Regions from separate parts of the Homo sapiens genome. Here regions 1, 3, 4, 5 and 6 are each linked to region 2. The links are contacts of gene promoters, found by promoter capture Hi-C in blood cells and fetal thymus (Javierre and others, 2016). All regions are on one chromosome and are shown on one strand. The core of a region is centred on a gene start or on the middle of the fragment in contact, and the rest is flanking DNA. Distances in the headings are between cores, read along the strand shown. Region 1 overlaps B3GAT2 (beta-1,3-glucuronyltransferase 2). Region 2 holds the start of FAM135A (family with sequence similarity 135 member A). Region 3 overlaps SMAP1 (small ArfGAP 1). Region 4 overlaps SMAP1 (small ArfGAP 1). Region 5 overlaps SMAP1 (small ArfGAP 1). Region 6 overlaps SMAP1 (small ArfGAP 1).

Region 1 (3,455 bases), core at 254-2,753, 480 kb after region 2:
ACATGGCCTGGCTGAGGGCTGGTGCTGTGGAGATGTGTGTTAAATGTTGAGTAAAAATCTCCTATTTGTCCTCTCCCACGATGCCATGTGACAAGACCCACCACACAGCTGTCCATGAGCGCTGTGCCCCTCAGATGACTCCTGGTATTCTTCGTCCTCTGGCTCCCTCAGATTTATAGTATTGTCAGAATAAAAGTGATGAATCCAGTTCAGAAGACAGCCTCCATCCCATCAGAATTCTGAACGCGGAGATCTTGACTACGGCTGGGAAATATGCACAGAAGATGGGGCAAGCACAGGCTGGCAGCCCGACAGAGCTGTGCTTCAGAGCTCAAGATTGATGAGATCAATTTTGAAGCCTTTCTGCCTTCATTTTTAAGAGTATAGATGTCACCGAATTTTTTTTTTTTTTGCCTCTGAGCCTCATGTTTCAAACTCCATCCTTCCACAGTTATCACAGGCATCATTTTCTATAACCCATAGAAAATGAGTTGTTTTATGATAAAGTAGCATTTTAGAACGTGTGGTCCTACTGCAGGGCTAATTCAATTCAGTTGGTTGTTCAGGGAATAAAAACTTTAAGACAGTTATACTCAATAAATTCTTGAAATACCAGAAATCTAAGTTTATATTTTAGTATTAAATATATCAATAAAGCACTAAACCTATCAATAAGCATTAAAATGACTTGTCAATTTTTATATCATTGTTAAATTTATCAATAAACATGATATATTTTAATATATCAGTCTTCTAGAAAAGGGAGTCAAAAGGTTCCAGCTAACAGACCCCTGGAAGGCAGGAGCCAGGTCTAGCTCTCACCACCGAATCCCCAGTGGCCAACCCAGTAGCTGCCATGTAGACGCTTGTGGGATAAAGGCACAGACAGGGGACAAAATGGAACAGAAAGGGCATTTTCTAATCACCCTCCAAATCAATTTCCACTTGATCTAACCAAAGAGCCTATTTTGAAGGTTTAAATATTTCATCTCCTGAATATGATATGATGTAGGGTTTTATCCAAATTTGTCTTTTAAAGCTTCCTTCATCTAGTGCATCGTTATAAACAAGAGCATAAGAACAGTCCAGCAGGAACAAATGTCATCACCCACACTGCTCACCTGCCATGTCGATGGCAAAAGGCCTGTCTGCTCTCCAGCCGGTGTACCAGCCAACAACTTTGCCGTTTTCCACCAGCGGACGTTCGTAGCGCCGCCCACCAACCAGGCCCACAGGCCAGACGGAGACCTTGCGGGTGGTTCGCATCTATAAAAAGGGAAAAGACATGTGTTTTAAGTTTCCTTAGGAAAAAGAGGGAGGAAATGAATGTGATCTATGTAGAAGAAGTAGGGCTGGTAGTGGTGTAAGATTTCAAAAGCTGAAGGTTTCAAAACAGAATCCTTCTGCTGCTAGAGTATGGCCCCCATCTGTTAGGCTGGCTGCTGTGCCATGATCTCTACTCGGTCATAAATTGGGCTAGGGCTCAAGGTTTAGGAGAAATAAAATGGTTGTCAATATCTGGACATCGCTGATTTGAAGCTAAGTTGCAACTATCAGATATTTTCCTATTTGTTTCAAAGTTGAATCTTTAAACAATACTTCTATCTTCCGAGGTGAGAAAGTTTAATTCCCCTTTAGGAAACTTCATTACTCAGGAAGAACAAAAACTTCAGAGAAGTCACAGGAGCGTCCTTTCTCTGACTTTTCTATTGCTATACATACACAGAATTCTTGGCTGGGGACATTAATAATGGGATCCAGATACAGACCTGAACCTGGCTTCTTCCAGAGTGATAAAAAGAAACACATACCCTAAACATTTGCCTGCCTTTTAAGGGCAATTGGGCCAAACTAGAGACCGTTGGAATCGCTTGTCCTTGTTACACACAGTGGAATCCTGGTTAAACATGACGCTCAACTGAAAGTTACTAGCTGGATTTCTTTAAGGGGAAAGAGATGCCCACAAGAAAGCTTGCTGATATTAGGCAGCACTGTAGGAGAAAATCGCTACCACCACCTTTTTCCAGGGCTCATGCTGAACAGCTCAAAAGGCATCTTAGCATAAACTAGAAAAAGGTGCCCCTTTCTCGGGCAGACACACCCCATGCTGGAGCCCATAGCTTGGCAAAGTACAAGCTGGACTTAAGCTCCACGCACCCTCACAGCTGGGTGTGCCTTGGACGAGGTATAACCTGCACAACTGCATGAGGTGGTCTTGTTGTTGAGGTAATTATAATTTCAACAGCAGTGCTTTATCTTTTATTTGCTATAGAACTGAACTGGGTCATAATCAGTTAACCAGTGGTTAAATAATGAACATCAACCAAGGAATTTTTTATGAAAGGAAAAAAATGATATACCTTGGAAAGATTTTCAAATACAATAGAAATGAAAGTCACAATATTAAAGAGTAAAAATAATTAGAAGCTCCCATTAGCCAAGCTTCCTGGTTTTACTTATTATTATCCTACCTTGTTCCAAAAAGGGGATTTTTTTTTTTTTTTTTTTTTTTTTTTGGAGTCAGAGTCTCACTCTGTTGCCCAGGCTGGAGTGCAGTGGTGTGATCTTGGCTCACTGCAATCTCTGCCTCCCGGGTTCAAGTAATTCTCCTGCCTCAGCCTCCTGAGTAGCTCGATTACAGCCACCCACCAACACTCCTGGCTAATTCCAAAGAGGGGATTTAAGGGTATGAAGCATTCCAGGTAATGAGGTTCTCACTGCATTGGTCTGCCTCAAATCTAAAGTTACTATTTTTTATAATCTCTTATCATTTTTTCAATAAATGAACTGCAACTGTCTTGTGCTAACTCACACTAACTTTTACAACTTTTTTTTTTTTTAACAAGCTGAGGTATAAGTGACTGCAGAAAAGTGTTAACAAGCCTGAGACTTTATCTAAAGCCTTATCTTTAGAAAGGTCTGCTTGCAAGGCTTGCCCTTGGCTAGTGTCCGGGAACACAGCTTTTGAAACATTTCCTACCCTTATAAGGTTATTTTATCTGTCTGGGGCACTGAACAACTGCTTTCCTTTCAGGAATATGAAATATTGGTGGGCAAGAGTGCCTATGTGACAAGCCCTGAACAAAAACCCTGAACTCTTGAGTCTTAAGTGGGTTTCCCTGGGTATAATCATTGTACGCCTGTGACTACATTTTCACTACTGGAGAGGTGGTATGCTGTGTGTGATCTCAGAGGGAGGGAGGGAACACAGAAAACCCACACATGGATTCCTCTGGACCCTGCCTGATGTCATTTCCCCTTACTGATCCACCTGTGTATCCTTCTACGTCAGTGTAATAAGTCTTAGCCCTAAGAACGACTATATGCTGAGTGCTACAGGTCCTAGTAAACCACCAAACAGGGTTGTCTTGGGATCCCTGAAATACTAATATAGAATAAAATGCGCTTTTTAAAGTCTAAAATTAGACACATTTTGACATATGTATATAGCCATG
Region 2 (3,143 bases), core at 81-2,580:
CAGCACTTTGGAAGGCCAAGGCGGGTGGATCACCTAAGGTCAGGAGTTCGAAACCAGCCTGACCAATATGGTGAGACCACGTCTCTACTAACAATACAAAAAGTAGTCAGGCGTGGTGGTGTGCGCCTGTAGTCCCAGCTACTAGGGAGGCTGAGACAGGAGAATTGCTTGAACTCCGGAGGCAGAGGTTGCAGTGAGCCGAGATCACATTACTGCACTCCCGCCTGGGCGACGGAGCAATGCTCTGTCTCACACACACACTCGAAAAAAAAAAAAACTGGTACAAAGATATATTCAAAACCTGTCCCCTAAATGGCCTACGTTACAAGACCTCACCATTACTTTCAAATGAATGCACAAAGCTTTTCCCTTCTAATTCATTCTTATTGTGGTAAAATATACATAACAGAAAATTTACCATTTTAACCATTTTTAAGTGCACAGTTCAGTAGCATTATGTCCATTCATTGTTGTGCAACCAACACCACTATCCATCCTAGATTCATTTTTAAAACAAGAGTCGCAGCTGAAATTTTCCTTTCATTAACTCAGCTTTAGCAACATACTGAACTTTATGCACCACAAAAGTTTTTGCCAGATAAGGTTCAGAAACAGGGAAGAGTGAAATAAATCAATGATCCTTCGTGGGCTTCTGTTAACGGAATGTATTAGCGAAAGGCTTCACTTCATCAGCCCCCTCCCGCCCTTTTTGGCGTCATAAACCAAGAAACAACCAGATCAGCACCCACATCTCCCAAGATGCAAACACTGGGTCCCGAAAGGCATCTGTCCTGCCCCGGCGCAGATCCCCTGCAGCCTCCTTTCCTACTGCACAAATCGACTAGCGCAGGGACCGGGCTCTCTACCCGGGACTGCACGGAGGAGCTAAAGAGAGAAAAGGAGAAACAACATTGTGAGAAAAACGGCTAAAGTTCTCGAACTCCGTGTTTTTGCCCTCTTCTTGTTCACTACTCTTCAACCACCTCCAAGTTCCATCCCTTAAACCCACAAGCGAGCCCCTTTTCTTGACGCGCGCCTTTTATTGACGCAAACCTCCCGTTCTCGCGGGAACTTGGGAACGGGAGCCTGGTAGGGAGGACAAATCTCTCGAAATCTCAGTTGGCGCTGGAGCTGGAGGGGCAGTTGAAGCTCCTGAAGGGCGGGGCACGGAGCTTGAAGGGGCGGGGCCTAGCCTCAGAGAGGGGAGGGAAGAGGCGGGAGGAGGAGGTGAGAGAGGCCGGGGGCGGGGCCGTGCGGCCGGGGACCTGTTGATCGCAGGTATAGCCGGCTGGCCCGGGCTCCCTCGGGACTGGGGCGACTGCGCATGCTCGCTGGCCGCGCTGGGCCAGTAGCCGAGCCGCGGTGACGAACCGGCTCCGCGGTTGCGGTGTTTGCGGTTGCTGTGATGGCGATGTGAGGGGGCCCGGGGCGGGATGGTGCTGACCCGGGTCGGGCCGTCTTCTTGCAGCTGGACAACGAGCTCCTCCGTTCGACAGGCGGGGGAAGAGGCCGAGCCGGGCGAGAGGTAACCCCCTTACTGTCCCCTCTGGCTCCCCCGGCTCCCGACACCCACGACCCCTCCCTCCGTCCCTCTTGCCCAGGGGCCAGGAAGGAAGCGGCCTCCTCTTCGTCCGCCGTTCGCCCGCCGCGGCCCCTCACCCGACTGCTGGCGGTCGGAGCCTGGCCCCGGCCCCGTTGAAGGTCGGTGGGGACGGCGGTGCGGAGCGCTCTGAGGGAGGCGAGGGGCCGCGGCGCGCTGCTCTCCCGGTGCCCGCGGCCGCCCCTGCCCCTGCGCGCGTCCCTCGACCCGTTCTTCCTGAACCTCGCGCCTAGCGTGTTTGCCCTTCACCCCTGCTCCATCTTCGTCGCTCTGTCCCTCCTTTACCCGCTTTCGTGGTTCTGCTTTTTCATCCCGCGCCTCCCACGTGTCTTTTTGCCCGGGTGGTCCCTCCTTGGGAAGCAGCGTATCTCTGTGCTTCCATCCCTTGCCTGGCTCTTCCCTGTCCGGAGCTCCTTACCCTGGCCGACCAGGTTTCTCACTCTTGTTACCTCCATAATTTCTTCCTTGGTTTTATTTTCCTCTCATCCACCTCCTTTCGGTACTTCCTCCTGGTTCCCTTTTTGTTAGTTGCCGATTGTGTTTTGCTTTAGCATCGCTTTGCATTGGAGTTCATTCCATGCCCCATCTTAGCTTCGGAAACCCTCACTGCCTTCTCTTTCCTCTGGTACCCTGCTTCATCGCTTTCTGTCTAATGGCCCCTATCCTCACGTCCTTTTCCATTCTGCACCCAGTGAGTCTCTAATCTTAATTTTTTCCCCTCCAAAACTCTTCCACCCTCCCCCCCCCATTTGTATAAGTCAAGCCTCTTAACTTCATTCCATTTGTTTTACTTTTTATTAAATCTCTGAAGACTTCTTTGTGACATACCCTTCTAGTCCTTGCTGCTTTCTGCCTAAGCTAGGTATCCACTCAATGTTTCTAGTTCATCTTCCAGTTTAATAACATTTCTTCTTTCTTTACCGGTTGGTGGAAGTATCATCAAAAGAGTGACAGTAGCAACAAATCGGTTACACTTACTGATTAAAGCTTTAATTTTTAAGAATTATGTTTACCTGGCATGCCTGGGAAAGCAACTTGAGTACAGACTAAATGAAACTATAATGGGTTAAGACTTGTTAAAGGTTGACCTACAAACATACACTTAAAATTTGGAAATTTTCTTGTCCTCCATTAGGTGTAGCTGTCCAAGAACTAATCTTAAATGAAATTTAACAGAATTTCTTTTTTAAAATGTATTATTAATTTGTTTTATACATTTGCTATTGCAATTGATTGCATAATTTTCCTGAGAGTCTCTGTTCTCTAATAAATGCATACAATTTCTGCTACCTTTAGAATTAGTGTGCTTATAGGAGACATACGTGAGAAGTATTAAATTTTTTAATTGAGCAGAAGAACTTTCTAAACGGTTTTGTAATTTTTTTCCTCCATTGCATTGTGATCAAGATTTGGCTTAAATAAAACTTCTCTTTCCATAAATAATGGTATAGTATCTTATTTTGAAGGCATCTGCTGAAGCAATTATGTTTAGTGAAGTTTGTCTTTATTGTAGGGTTGAAGATCAACTGGATTATGTATTTGG
Region 3 (3,260 bases), core at 503-3,002, 450 kb after region 2:
CACTCACTATATGGTAAATCTTGCCTTTCCTTCTCTTATCACCAATTTTGGAAGTAAGAGAATCACAGGGTTAAGATGCTTATATATATATATATTTGACTCCAGTCTTGAAGAAAAATACATGTAATCTTATGCTTTATTGCATACAATGAAAATAAATTTTAGATGTTTATGTTGTTAGATCAGCGAGAGAAATAAATGCTTTATGACCACTTTAAAAATATTTAGGAAGTATATAAGATTTTAATAGAGAATAATATCTATCATACAAAGTTTATAGGATAATTTTAGACTATTTTACTTCCTAAAATTTTCTTACTCCTTAGTAGTTAAAGCACAATATCCTAGTGTAGGTGAAAGTTAGTTAGAGTAGCGGACTCATTAAAATCCCAAGATTGCTTTGGTATTTTTTTTTAAGTAAGTTGTGGTTAATCTTTGGGGAAACTGTATCTAGAAAGTAGATAAAGAAGGGAACAAAGTAGCTATTTGCTTTAAGAAATATTTGTATGGTACTCTGTTTTTATTCCAGTGCTTGGACTAGTTGTCACATTAATGAAAAAATGACCAACTGTGTGGCTAAAGAAACAAGAATTAAAAGTGAAGTAAGCCTCTTGAACTAAGCCTTTTATATGTTTCACAGATGAATCAGCAGATGGCTGGCATGAGTATCAGTAGTGCAACCCCTACTGCAGGTTTTGGCCAGCCCTCCAGCACAACAGCAGGATGGTCTGGAAGCTCATCAGGTCAGACTCTCAGCACACAACTGTGGAAATGAAAACTGCAATACAAGTTTCATCCAGAACTACCACCTGACATTCCTTGCTGAAACGCATCTAGTTCCCCTGTTTATTCATATGCATATTTTTTTTCTTTTTACCCATTTGTTCATATTAAGAATGATCTGATTGACCGTGTTGGTCTGTACTGATTCAATTTGATGTGGTGAAAAGCAGGTTGATAAATCATTTTATGTCAAGGGCAGCTTTGCTCATATTTCCCATGATTTCATGTACTGCATTATTTGAGAAGCTGCTCAACTTGCAAAATCAGTTTTCCTCTCAATAAAATTATAGCTCTAATGTTTGCATATAAGGGAAGTAGTTATCATGTTAGTAATACCTCTAATAGTATAAACCCCACCCCAAAATTAGCCAGTAATCCTGTAGGAAGGTACTGTATGATCAAATGTTTAATCATATAAATAGAATGTAAATGTCTCACTGAGCACTGTTTTCTAGTGTATCAAAATGCTCTTATTTCATCATTCACTTCACTGTGCTGTTGTTATGATGTGCTTAACAGGGAACGTGATTAGTGAAAGGAAGATAAACGTGGATGTTACTCCAAAACTTCGTTTAATGAATGCTTAAAGAATTCAAATTTTATCTGCCTCTCTTGTAATTTGGATCTCTTCTTAATGTACATAGTGCTAACATGAAGACCTTTTTCTGCACTATATGCAAACAGGGTAACTAACTAAAACAAAGCCACTTTCAATCTTCAATCCTTGAAGGTATATCTAGGTTTATGACAGTAATTGTGTTTACATTTTATGGTGCCTAGTATTGACAAAATGTTATTTCCCTACATTAAACATGACTCCATAGACCTTTTCATTTGTGGGTTTTTATTTCCTATGATGTATACTGCCACTAACCTTCCAAAAATTACTTAGTATTGCAAAGTCAGGAATCATCAGGAACGTTTAGCTGACAAAATACTTGTCTGTTTTAAAAACCTGTTCAAGTCTACCAACCTGTTCAAGTCTACCAATTATAAGGGCAAATTGGAGAAAAAGAAAAAATATATACTCAAGAGTGGTATCTTGCAGTATCGGCACTGTACAAAAAAATCTTCCAATTTAGTTGTTGTAGAGAAAACATGCAGAACAAATGAAGACAAAACATACATTTTGTACCAACCATCCAATTAGCTTATGTTAACTGACAAGCTCCATTTAAACAGATGTCCATCAGATGACAAGAAAGGCTGCTGTACTGAAGTAAAACAAACAATACCTGAATGCTCTGTAGCCTAAACTCCAAACATCCTCTTCCATATGGATCCACTGGCTGGACAAACTGCACCAGTTGCTGCTTCAATTTATACCTCAATTTTCACTGTGTCCAGGTGGTACTTTGGCTCGTTGGCTAGATTAACCTTCTCTGTCCGAGTGTGCCACACGAGAACCTGAAGGGGAAGGAAATAGCTTGGGTAGCGCACTCTTCATGGTGACACTCGAGGTCGGGCAGCACAAGTGTAATGAATACCTTAGTGCAGTTATTTGCTTTCGGTTCCAGTTCTTCGACTGTTGTTATCTGTTTGAGAAAGTCAGATTCTTGCATCCCTGGCTGGGATCCACGACGCTTAAATACAGCTTTTGGATTGGACAAAATGACTTGAAGACTTACAGCAAATCCTTTGTGAAAAATAAAAAAAAAAAAGAGACTTTAAAATCCTGGTGTACTTCTCTTTTTTTCTGTATAATTTTGGTCACATCAAAACAGTTTTTAAAATACCTACTGTGTGTCAGGTCTTGGTTTACAAAGTTGAATAGGAACATTACCTGTATTACAGTCTCAAAGGAAAATCAGTCATTACAATATTTTACATTCCGTGTAAAATAAAGGCGTGCACAGGAGCATCTACGCAAAATAGGAAGTTTAGTCTGTTGATAATAAAGGGTGAATTTTATAAGCTGCTGTTTCACAGTGATCATCAACCCCCCACATTTGCCACTAGGAATAACTAAGAAATAAATGCAGCTGAAAAACATACATGCTTACCTAACTACATGTGGGGTATGAGACCACATGCCCAGCTCTCCTGCCTGCCCTGTAATATTAATTATGTATGCTTCCTTAAATCCAGCACTGCTTGGATTCATTTTGCATTTAGAAGAGGGAGCAACAGAAGTAAAGCCGATTAGCTGGAAAATGAATCATACCTAATTTTTAATCATCTGGTTTATATTTCTAATTTGGTTCAATCTAAAAAGGGTATGTGGGGCAGAAATCAGTGCAGGAGATATCAGGCCATCATCTGATAAAGTTTTTTTTTGGTATTTCATTTACCAAAAATAAGTGTAAATTTTCTTCAATGGTTTGGTCATACGAAAAATCATTACTGGCTGGGCACAGTGTCTCACATCTGTAATCTCAGCACTTTGGGAGGCCAAGGCAGAAGGATCTCTTGAGCCCAGGAGTTCAAGACCAGCCTGGGCAGCATAATGAGACCCTGTCTCTACAAAAAATACAAAA
Region 4 (3,143 bases), core at 216-2,715, 320 kb after region 2:
TTTTTTTTTTTACAATGTAAGGATTTTAAAAACAGTTATTAAATAATAATATTTGAAATTGTATTTGAACATTATTTGATTGCATTTGCCAACTTCTTGATAGGAATTGCTCTGTCTGGCCCCCCTCCCCTGCTCTTCCCATCTTTTTTTTTTTGAGACGGAGTCTCACTCATGCTATTGCTCAGGCTGGAGTGCAGTGGTGTGATGTCTGCTCACTGCAGCGTTTGTCTCCTGGGTTCAAGCGATTCTCCTGCCTCAGCCTCCCAAGTAGCTGGGATTACAGGTGCGTGCCACCATGTGTTGCTAATTTTTGTATTTTTATTAGAGGTGGGGTTTTGCCATGTTGGCCAGGCTGGTCTCGAACTCCTGACCTCAAGTGATCTGCCCACCTTGGCCCCCCAAAGTGCTGGGACTACAGGCATGAGCCACTGGACCCGGTCTCCTGTGTTTCTTTTTAAAAAATTGAGGTAGGAAATCCTGGTCGGGGTAGCCATGGCAGCTTGTGTCTGCCACCTGCCCTTGGCCATCACACTGATGCACCGGGTCCCGTGCTGGCCACAGCCTGCTGCTCAGCATCGCCTGTGCTCTGTGGGGACTCTGATGAGGCTGGGGCTTTGCAGCTGGCTCCACAGCGGGCTTTGGTGCTTGCGCACGTGCTGGGTAGAAGTTACACAGTCGTGCTGTCAGTATAGTGACTTGCCCCCTTTGATGTTAGAGGGAATCGAAGACTGTCTTCTTTATATCTTGAAACCCTGTGACAGGATTGACCCAGAGAAGCTCTCAGTGAATTCTTACTTTATGAAAGACCTGTGCTTGGACAGTTTGGACCAAGTAGAGAGTAAGCATGGTCATGGAAGATAAATTTGGGTTTGAAATTCCTGGTATAGATATGGAAAAGTTAATATGTCCACAAGAAATTGTAGATTATATTGCAGATAAGAGAGATGTATATGAATAAAATATCAGACCCTTTTGCTTCACTGGGAGAAGACTCAGATGATACTGGTGAGTGTCTGGAAGTGAGAATGCATTTTGGCATTATTGCTGACTTTGGCAGAGTAATTCTGTTAGACCTGGGTTTAAATTGTGTAATTGTTTTACTCTGAAAATAAACGTATAAAACCAAAAAAAGAAAAAACTTGACTTATAATTACAGAGAGAACAGTTCACAGATCTCATTTAGTTTTATGAGTCTTGGCAAATGTCTGTATGATGTCACCAATACCCCAGTGAAGATAGAGCATTTCTGTCACACTAGAAAGTTCCTTCATGCCAATTTCCAGTCAAGTCCCCCAGGGGCATACACTACACTGATTTCTATCCCATTGGGTTAGTTTTGCTATACATTAAAATGTCTGTCTTTTTGGAGGCTGTTCCTATTAACTTTGACGTTTAATTCAGATGGGCAAAAGTGATGATCACAATGTGATATAATGTTCCATATTCATATGATATTTTATAATAATTTCTTTGATATAAAAAGTGCTTGAGGCCAGGAGCGGTGGCTCACTCCTGTAATCCCAGAACTTTGGGTGGCCAAAGTGGGCAGATCCGAGAGTTTGAGACCAGCCTGGCCAACATTACGAAGCCCCGTCTCTACTAAAAATACGAAAATTAGCAGGGTGTGGTAACACACACCCGTAGTCCCAGCTACTCTGGAAAGTGAGGTGGGAGAATCACTTGAGCCTGGCAGGTGGAGCTTGCAGTAAGCCAAGATCCTGCCACTGCACTCCGCCATGAGTTATAGAGTGAGACTCAGCCTAAAAAAGAAGTACTTGGGAGGTATTTATTTATGGAACTAAGAGAAATACTTTTACTGTACATAGTTACATAGTTATACCCTTTGTCTTTCCCTGCAACATTTCATAATTGTGTTTCTAATTTTCAAAGATGATACTGTTTTGGCTAGCTCTATTTTTTTAAAAATACCTTTTATTAGTAAATATGGAAACATGATTTAATCTTTGAGCCCAGTCAAGCTGTTAAATAAAAATGTTCTTTGTGTGTGTGTGTGTGTATAATTCTGTAAAATGTAAATACTAAGTTTTTCCTCAAGGTTACTTATAAACTGATATTATATGTACCATATTTTTATCTGTTATTTATGTATATGTTATGTGTTTCAGTTTTTAGAGCACAACATGTACAGCTGTTAGAATTGCTGTATGCTTATTTTTAAAAGAAAATAGTTGTTACCCAAAACTTACTTTGATTTTTAATAACATAGAAATAAAGTTACTCACTGTAAAAAAGTCTTAAAAGTTCTTTTAATGTGGTTCATGGTCAGATTAATTGTGTTTGGTCTTGGGTTTATTGTCACGTACTTCTCAAATTTTTGGAAAGGACCAAGTTTTTTATACTTTTATAAATACTATAGCTTCCTTCCCCTCCCCCCACCCAAGATATTATACATTTGGGTGGAGTAAAGAATGGAATACCAGAATTAACTGTTGTTTTATAGCAGTATCAAACAAATCCCTGTATATGCCATATGGATACAGGAAACAAGGATTTATGAAATTGTTTCAGTATGGAAATTTGGTCTATAGTGATAGTTATTAATGTTTAGCATTTGTAAATATTAAGATTAGTAGATGTCTTTATTCTACTTGCAGCTTGACAAACTAAAATTGAAATAATGAGCTGTTTGGAAAGAAAGTTAATGTCATTGTTCCAGTTACTCTTAAAAACTTGTATATTCTATGGTTCTTACTCCTTTCTCCCTTTTACTTCTGTGTTCTTAATTCTTTTCTTGCTTCTGCTGCTTTCTAGTTTCATTTCTCCGACAAGTCCAAGGCTTTGCCTTATTTCTGATGTTCTCATCAGTGTCACATCTCCATTTGTTTTACACAGTGCATTCAGAGTAATTTTCCTAGAACATTGCTTTGGTTATTTTACTTCCATCCTAAGAAATTTGCATTGATTCTTCTGTGAGACTCATAAAACTTTTTATTTTCATTAAACTGGTCTTCATGTTCCTCTGCCTTCTGGCTTCATCATTTGTCTTTGACCTTACTTCAGATGCTTTACAACAAATAGCTTTGGCTGTACCAGACAGTTCTTTCTGCTGAAACAATCTGATAGTGTGTTCTTTTGTTTTGTTTTGGTTGTGCTATTGTCCTTGTTGGAAATGTATTTTTTGT
Region 5 (3,505 bases), core at 464-2,963, 410 kb after region 2:
AGGAAACTCTTTAATTTGATTGTGATAACTATGGTATGCCTTGATACAGAGACTAGAGAAATATTATGAAAACTTTATTATTTAGGCCGGGTGCAATGGCTCACGCCTGTAGTCCCAGCACTTTGGGAGGCCGAGGCGGGCGGATCATGAGGTCAGGAGATCGAGACCATCCTGGCTAATGAAACCCCGTCTCTACTAAAAATACAAAAAATTAGCTGGGTGTGGTAGCAGGTGCCTGTAATCCCAGCTACTCAGGAGGCTGAAGCAGGGGAATTGCTGGAACCCAGGAGGCTGAGGTTGTAGTGAACCGAGATCGTGCCACTGCACTCCAGCCTGGGCTAAGAGTGAGACTCCATCTCGGAAAAAAAAAAAAAAGAAAACTTTATTGTTCAAGATAATTTGATCAAGTGAGAGAGAACTTCCATCTAAGACAGTCTAGCAGATTTTTTTGGTTATTTTTTCCCATTTAATTTTGCAGAGTGTGTTGATTTGCTTTTTTATAATAAGCATTATTTAGAAGTTTGCTTTTCGACTCTTATTTTTAAGTAGGCCAAACTATCATACGTAAATAAACTAATTAATACAAACAGTAACAGTGGTTCAAGGGAATAATCAATAGCTGCTGGATTTAGACCTTGTAAAGTCTAAAGTTTGATTTCTGTATCCTTTTCCTTAGTAGATATCACTCTAGGTAGCACTTGAAGTTCCTGTTAGGATTTCCCCCCCTCCCTGCCCCATTTTCTCAAGATGTCCTGTTTTTAAAGAGAAAAATTAAGAGGATTATTAAAAACTTTGAATCACTATTTAGATTTATATCAACAAGATTAAGTTTTGTCTGTTTTTGAGTTTCATGTAAATGTAATCATACCATGCAACTCTTCCTCTGTATGGATTCTTTTGCTGATCATTGCGTCTGTGAGATTCATTTATGTCATTGCATTCTCATTTCTTATTGCTGAACATTCTTCTATTGTCTGTCTACATATGCCATACTTTTTTTTTTATTCTGCTGTTAGTGGACATTTGAGTCGTTTCTGGCTTAGGACTTCAATGAGTAAAGCTGCTATGAACATTCTTATAAATATATGGCATTGTCATGAAGAAAAATATCCTAGTGAGTATAGAAACTAATCTTTTTCTTATTCTGTGCTAATCAAGAGTACAGAATTTCCTGGCAGTTGAGAGGTTATCTTTAAATGAGTAAATTTAATTAGCCTGAAAAAATATTGACTACTACGTGAAGAAAGCTCTTTCAGCCAAGATGGTTTGCTCTGTTCTTACTGTTTTGTTTTACCTAGTTTTAAAAAGAGCGAATTGAATACCTAAAATAAGAATTATTACTTAACAGAAAGCAATAGCAAGATGATAGTAACTTTATTTTGTTAGTTAAATAACCATTTACTACAATGCCCGCAAGCCTAGAAGAAGAAACCCGCCAGAGATGTAATAGCTTTTTAACACTTGCTTATTATCAAAGTAACTGTGATGATAAAGAATGTGTAGGTTGTAGCAGAAAACCATATTTTAGGTTCTATTACAGGCTTGTAGTAAATTGAAAACATTTTTTTCTTCATGGAATTTCTAAAATGTTTTTGCAATCATTTGAAGCTTTATTGCAAGTGAGGCAATAAAAAGGGAAGAAATCCAATTACTTTATGTGCAGAGCTTTCATTTCCTAGTTAATGAAAGAAAGGCTTTTGTTCACTAAGCATGCATGCTTTACAGTTCTTCTTAGTAAATTAGAAATTTCCTGAAATAGAAAATTAGGAAAATACTTCCTGAATATATACACTTTGATAGAGGGTAGTTTTACTAAGTTAAAGCTTATACTTAAGAATGTTGCAGCCCAGGTGAAAGGGTCAACAATTAGATTAGATGGGTCATTGAAGGTAATAAAAATAGCAAGCACATACTTTGTGCTTAATGTTTGTGAGGCATTGTTCTAAGCTCTTTAAATATATTATTTCGTAGTCCTCACAATAGTTATATCAGGTTGATACCATTATTATTCTCCTTTATGATGAGAACCTGAGAGACAGAAGTTTGGCAATTTATTCATGGTCACACAGCTATTGAGTAGTGGCTGTGCTGAGAATTGAATATGATCAGTCTGCCTTCAGAATATGTATCCTTAACCAATATGCTATATGGCTTTTCAGTCTATTTCTATAACATCCAAAAATAGGAATGGGAAGGAAAGAAGCAAGAAAAGGTAAGGGCAAAGGACCTCAACTCTGTATCTTTGATTTTCTGCAGTTTGAACATGATGTACTTGGGTATAATTTTTTGGCCTTTTATCTTAGTTGGTGTTCTCTGAGCTTCCTGGATGTGTGGTTTTGTATCCAACATTAATTTTGGGGAAATTCTGTCATACTGTTTCAGATATTTCTTACGTTCAGTTCCTTCTTCTCCATCTGGTATTTCCATTACATGTATGTTACACTTTTTTAGTTGTCCCACAGTTCTTGGATATTCTTTTCCATTTCTTCAGTGTTTTTTTTTTCCTTTGCTTTTCTGTTTTGGAAGTTTGTATTGATGTATCCTCAAGCACAGAGATTCTTCCCTCAGCTGTGTCCAGTCTCCTAATGAGCCCACCAAAAGCGTTCTTCAATTCTGATCTCTTTATTTCTTTTTTAATCTTTCTTAGAATTTTCATCTCTCTTTATATTACCTATCTATTCTTGCATATTGTCTACTTTTTCCATTAGAGCCCTTAGCATACTAATGATAGCTGCTTTAAATTCATGGTCTGATAATTCCAACATATCTGCCATAATTGAGTATGGCTATGATGCTTGATCTTTCTCTTCAAACTGTGTTTTTTACCTTTTAGTATGTTTGTAATGTTTTAATGAAAGCTAGACATGATGTAGTGGGTGAAAGGAACTCAGATAAATAGGACTTTATTAATATTTCGGGGGAGGGGAAGTGTTCTATAATCCTGTGATTAGGTCTCAGTCCTTTAATGAGCCTGTGCCCCTATGTTATATACTTCACAAGTGCCTCTATCCTGCACCCCTTAGGTGAGACAGGATGGCTGGAGGGGAGTAGAATTGGGTATTTTCCTTCCTCTAGGTAGGTTAAGCTCTAATAAAACTCCTAGCAGGTCAGGCTCTGGTAAAATAGTTTCTCTTCAGGGCAGGCCTTGTTAAAAAGAACAGAATGTTCCATCATATTTCAAAATACAGTTGTCTGTTGGTATTCATGGGGCATTGGTTCTAGGACCCCCTGCAGATACCATAATCCACAAATGCTCAAGTCCCTTATATAAAGTGTCATATTTGTGTCTAACCTATGTACATCCTCCCATATACTTTAAATAATATATAGATTACTTATAATACATAATACAATGTAAATGTTATGCAGATTGTTAGGCTGTTTTTTAATTTGTATTTTTTGTTGTATTATTTTTTATTTTTATTTATTTTGGATATTTATAATCTGTGGTTGGTTGAATTCATGCATGTGGAACCCACAGATAGAGAGCCAACCGTAGTTATTT
Region 6 (3,610 bases), core at 1-2,500, 300 kb after region 2:
AGATAAAAAACAGGCTGGGTGTGGTAGCTCACGCCTGTAATCCCAGCACTTTGGAAGGCTGAGGTGGGCGGATCATGAGGTCAAGAGATAGAGACCATCCTGGCCAACATGGTGAAACCCCATCTCTACTAAAAATACAAAAATTAGCTGGACATGGTGGCATGCACCCGTAGTCCCAGCTGCTCGGGAGGCTGAGGCAGGAGAATCGCTTGAACCCGAGATTGCGTAGGTTGCAGTGAGCCGAGATTGCGTCACTGCACACTCCAGCCTGGTGACAGAGCGAGACTCCCATCTCAAAAAAAAAAAAAAAAAAAAAAAGGGTAAACGGCATACACATATAGGGCACTTACCATGATTGGAGCTTGCAGAATTGGCAGTTGCTCTGGGTAAGTCAGTGAGTGAATAGTGAATGAATGTGAAGGTGTAAGACATTACTGTAGGCTTTGTAAACACTGTACACTTAGGCTAGAATAAATTGATATTAAAAATTTCTTGATAAATTAACCTTAGCTTACTGTAACTTTTTATTATCTAAAAACTTCAAAAATTTTTTAAACTTCTTGACTCTTTTGTAATAACAGTTTAAGACACACGTTGTACAGCTATACAAGGCATTTTCTTTATATCCTTATTCTATAAGCTTTTGTCTATTATTATTATTGCTTTTTTACTTTTTAAGCTTTTTTTGTTCAAAACTAAGACACGAACACCCATATTAGCCTAGGACTCCACAGGTTCAGGATTTTCAGTATCCCTCTTTCACCTTCACATCCTATCCCATGGAAGGTCTTCAAGGGCAATAACACACATGGAGCTGTCATTTCCTATAATAATAATGCTGTCTTCTGGAATACCTCCTGAAGGGCCTACCTGAGGCTATTTTACAGTTAACTTTTTTTAATAAGTAGAAGGAGTACATTCTAAAATAACAGTAAAAAGTATAGTAAATACATAAACCAGTACCATAGTCATTTATTATCAAGTACATAATTGTGTGTGCTATACTTTTATTCAGCTGGCAGTGCAATAGGTTTATTTACACCAGCATTATCACAGACATGTTAGTAATTTGTTGTGCTACGATGTCACAATAATTACAATGTCTCTAGGCAATAGGAATTTTTTATTTCCATAATAATCTCATGGAACTGTTACTGTAAATGTGGTCTGTCATTGATTGAAAGGTCATTATGCAGAGCCTGACTGTATTTTATTCCTTTTGTTGTGTTTTCTCTTTCAGATCGATCACTATTGGTATAAATAAATGCAGCTGATTTTTGTATGTTGATTTTGTGTTTTACTTTACTGAATTAATTTATTAGCTCTTTTTTTTTTTTTTCTTTTTTGAGACAGAGTTTCACTCTTGTCACCCAGGCTGGAGTGCATTGGCGCGATCTCTGCTCACTGTGACCTCCGCCTCCCAGGTTCAAGCGATTCTTCTGCCTTAGCCTCCTGAGTATCTGGGATTACAGGCGCCTGCCACCATGCCCGGCTAATTTTTGTGTTTTTAGTAGAGATGGGGTTTCACTATGTTGGCCAGGCTGGTCTCGAACTCCTGACCTCAGGTGATCCACCTGCCTCGTCCTCTCAAAATGCTGGGACCCGCACCTGGCCTAATATGTATATATTTTTAATGGAGTCATTAGTATTTTCTACATAAAGGATTACGTCATCTGCAAATGAGGATAATTTTACCTTTTCCTTTCTGATTTGGATGCTGTTTATGTCTTTTGTAGGATTGCTCTTGCTAATATTTCCAATTCTGTGTTCAATAGAAGTGGTGAGAATAGATATCCTTTCCTTGTACCAGATCTTGGAAGAAAAGCTTTCAGTTTCTCCCCCACAGATTATTATGTTTGCTTTGAGTTTTTCATAAATGGCCTTTATTATGTTGAGGAAGTTTCCTTCTATACTTATTCTGTCGAAAGTTTTTATTATGAAAAGATGTGGAACTTTTGTCAAATGCTTTTTTGTTCATTTATTGAGATGATCATGTGGCTTGTATCATTCATTCTGTTAATGAGGGGTAATCACCTTGATTGATTTGTGTATGTTAAGCCAACCTTATATCCCAGAGGAAAATCCCACTTGGTCAAAGTGTATTATCTTTTTAATGTGTTGTTGAATTTGGTTTGCTGGTATTTTACTGAAGATTTTTGAATGTGTGCTCATCAGAGATATTGGCTTACAGCTTTCTTTCCTTGTGGCATCTTTGTCCAGCTTTGGTACTACCCTGAGGGTGATACTGGCTTCATACTATGAGTTTGGAAATACTCCCTCTACTTATTTTTTGGAAAACTTCAAGAAGGATTGGTGTTAATTCTTCTTTGAGTGTTTGGTAGAATTTAGCTGTGAAGCCATCTGGTCCTGGATTTTTCTTTGTTGAGAGGTTATTGATTACTTCTTTCATCTCTATTTGTAATTTGACTGTTGAGGAAATTCTGTTTCTTCTTGATTCAGTCTTGATAGGTTTTATGTTCCTAGGAATTTATCTGTTTCCTTTAGGTTATTCAATTTATTGGCACCTAGTTGTTTATAAGTAGTTCCTTATTTTTTTTTATTGCTTTTCTTTTCTTTTCTTTTTTCTTTTTTTCTTTTCTTTTTTTTTTTTTTGAGACAGAATCTCACTCTGTCACCTAGGCTGGAGTGCAGTGGCACAATCATGGTTCACTGCAACCTCTGCCTTCCGGGTTCAAGTGATTCTTTCCTCAGCCTCCTGAGTAGCTGAGATTACAGGCATGTGCCACCACACCTGGCTCATTTTTTGTATTTTTAGTAGAGATGGGGTTTCACCATGTTGGTCAGGCTGGTCTTGAACTCCTGACCTCAAATGATCCACCCACCTCGGCCTCCCAAAGTGCTGGAATTACAGGTGTGAGCCACTGCACCCATCCTGTGATTTTTTTATATTTCAGAGACATCCTTTGTAATGCTTCCTCTTTCATTTCTGATTTTTAGTCTTCTCTCTCTTTCTCTTAGACTACCTGGGAGTTTGTCAGTTTTATTTTCTCAACAACCAACTCTTAGTTTTGTTGATTTTTTTTCCTGTGGTTTTTCTATGCTTTATTTGATTTATCTGTGTTTTTTTACTTTCTTTCTTCTGCTAACTTTGGGTTAAGTCTGTTCTTATTCTAGCTCCTTGAGGTGTATAGTTAGGTTGTTTATTTTGAGATTTTTTTTAATGCAGACATTTATCACTACAAAATTTCCTCTTATTACTGCTTTTGCTGTATCACGTAAGTTTTGGTTTGTTCTCTTTTTGTTTTTGTTTATCCTGAGATATTTAAAAAATTCTCTTTTGACTTACTGTTTGACCTAGTGGTTGTTCAATAGTGCGTTATTTAGTATTTGTGAATTTTCCATGTTCTTCTTGTTATCTAGTTCAATTCCATTGTTGTTGGACAAGGTATTTGATGATATTATTTTGAACTTCTTAAATTTGTTTAGACTTGTTTTGTGACCTAATGTGATCTGTCCTGGAAAATATTTTATGTACACTTGAAAAGAATGTATATTCTTCTGTTGAGTAGAACGTTCTGTATAGGCTTGTCAAGTTTATTTGGTGTGTAGTGTTGTTCAAGCCCCGTTTCTTTATTAATTTTTTTGTCTG

What was found. The method cuts DNA at HindIII sites, captures the fragments that hold promoters and counts their contacts. A CHiCAGO score of 5 or more calls a contact.
Region 1: a contact is called between a fragment that was not itself captured here and the fragment with the promoter of FAM135A in region 2, in 2 of 17 cell types (fetal thymus and total CD8 T cells). The highest score is 5.6, in fetal thymus.
Region 3: a fragment that was not itself captured here is called in contact with the fragment with the promoter of FAM135A in region 2 in 2 of 17 cell types (fetal thymus and total CD4 T cells); the score reaches 7.2 in fetal thymus.
Region 4: a contact is called between a fragment that was not itself captured here and the fragment with the promoter of FAM135A in region 2, in 2 of 17 cell types (total CD4 T cells and activated CD4 T cells). The highest score is 5.8, in total CD4 T cells.
Region 5: a fragment that was not itself captured here is called in contact with the fragment with the promoter of FAM135A in region 2 in 2 of 17 cell types (fetal thymus and total CD8 T cells); the score reaches 7.6 in fetal thymus.
Region 6: a fragment that was not itself captured here is called in contact with the fragment with the promoter of FAM135A in region 2 in 3 of 17 cell types (activated CD4 T cells, fetal thymus and naive CD4 T cells); the score reaches 6.3 in activated CD4 T cells.

What each region holds. Positions count from the first base shown.
Region 1 is chr6:70,893,007-70,896,461 of GRCh38, forward strand. B3GAT2 (beta-1,3-glucuronyltransferase 2) reads right to left here. Exons shown (of 4, transcript NM_080742.3): 2 at 1,122-1,266. The region is part of intron 2 of LOC105377850 (a long non-coding RNA gene); the gene reads left to right. Among named protein-coding and RNA genes, the nearest start is that of B3GAT2, 62 kb to the right of the region's middle. The HindIII fragment of the contact is 932 bases long and covers 1,038-1,969 here.
Region 2 is chr6:70,412,178-70,415,320 of GRCh38, forward strand. FAM135A (family with sequence similarity 135 member A) reads left to right here and starts at 1,331. Exons shown (of 22, transcript NM_001162529.3): 1 at 1,331-1,525; 2 at 3,114-3,143. FAM135A-AS1 (FAM135A antisense RNA 1) reads right to left here and starts at 1,781. Exons shown (of 2, transcript NR_147708.1): 1 at 1,660-1,781; 2 at 651-885. RefSeq lists silencers at 1,138-1,357, 1,698-1,847. The HindIII fragment of the contact is 2,225 bases long and covers 361-2,585 here.
Region 3 is chr6:70,859,560-70,862,819 of GRCh38, forward strand. SMAP1 (small ArfGAP 1) reads left to right here. Exons shown (of 11, transcript NM_001044305.3): 11 at 641-2,444. The coding sequence ends at 775. It overlaps B3GAT2 (beta-1,3-glucuronyltransferase 2), which reads right to left. Exons shown (of 4, transcript NM_080742.3): 3 at 2,271-2,419; 4 at 1-2,190. The coding sequence ends at 2,104. Among named protein-coding and RNA genes, the nearest start is that of B3GAT2, 96 kb to the right of the region's middle. The HindIII fragment of the contact is 5,480 bases long and covers 1-3,260 here.
Region 4 is chr6:70,734,006-70,737,148 of GRCh38, forward strand. The region is part of intron 2 of SMAP1 (small ArfGAP 1); the gene reads left to right. It also overlaps the pseudogene NDUFAB1P1. Among named protein-coding and RNA genes, the nearest start is that of SMAP1, 68 kb to the left of the region's middle. The HindIII fragment of the contact is 6,398 bases long and covers 1-3,143 here.
Region 5 is chr6:70,820,346-70,823,850 of GRCh38, forward strand. All of the region lies in intron 6 of SMAP1 (small ArfGAP 1), which reads left to right. Among named protein-coding and RNA genes, the nearest start is that of B3GAT2, 130 kb to the right of the region's middle. The HindIII fragment of the contact is 215 bases long and covers 1,607-1,821 here.
Region 6 is chr6:70,710,199-70,713,808 of GRCh38, forward strand. The region is part of intron 1 of SMAP1 (small ArfGAP 1); the gene reads left to right. Among named protein-coding and RNA genes, the nearest start is that of SMAP1, 44 kb to the left of the region's middle. RefSeq lists an enhancer at 3,000-3,049. The HindIII fragment of the contact is 1,146 bases long and covers 678-1,823 here.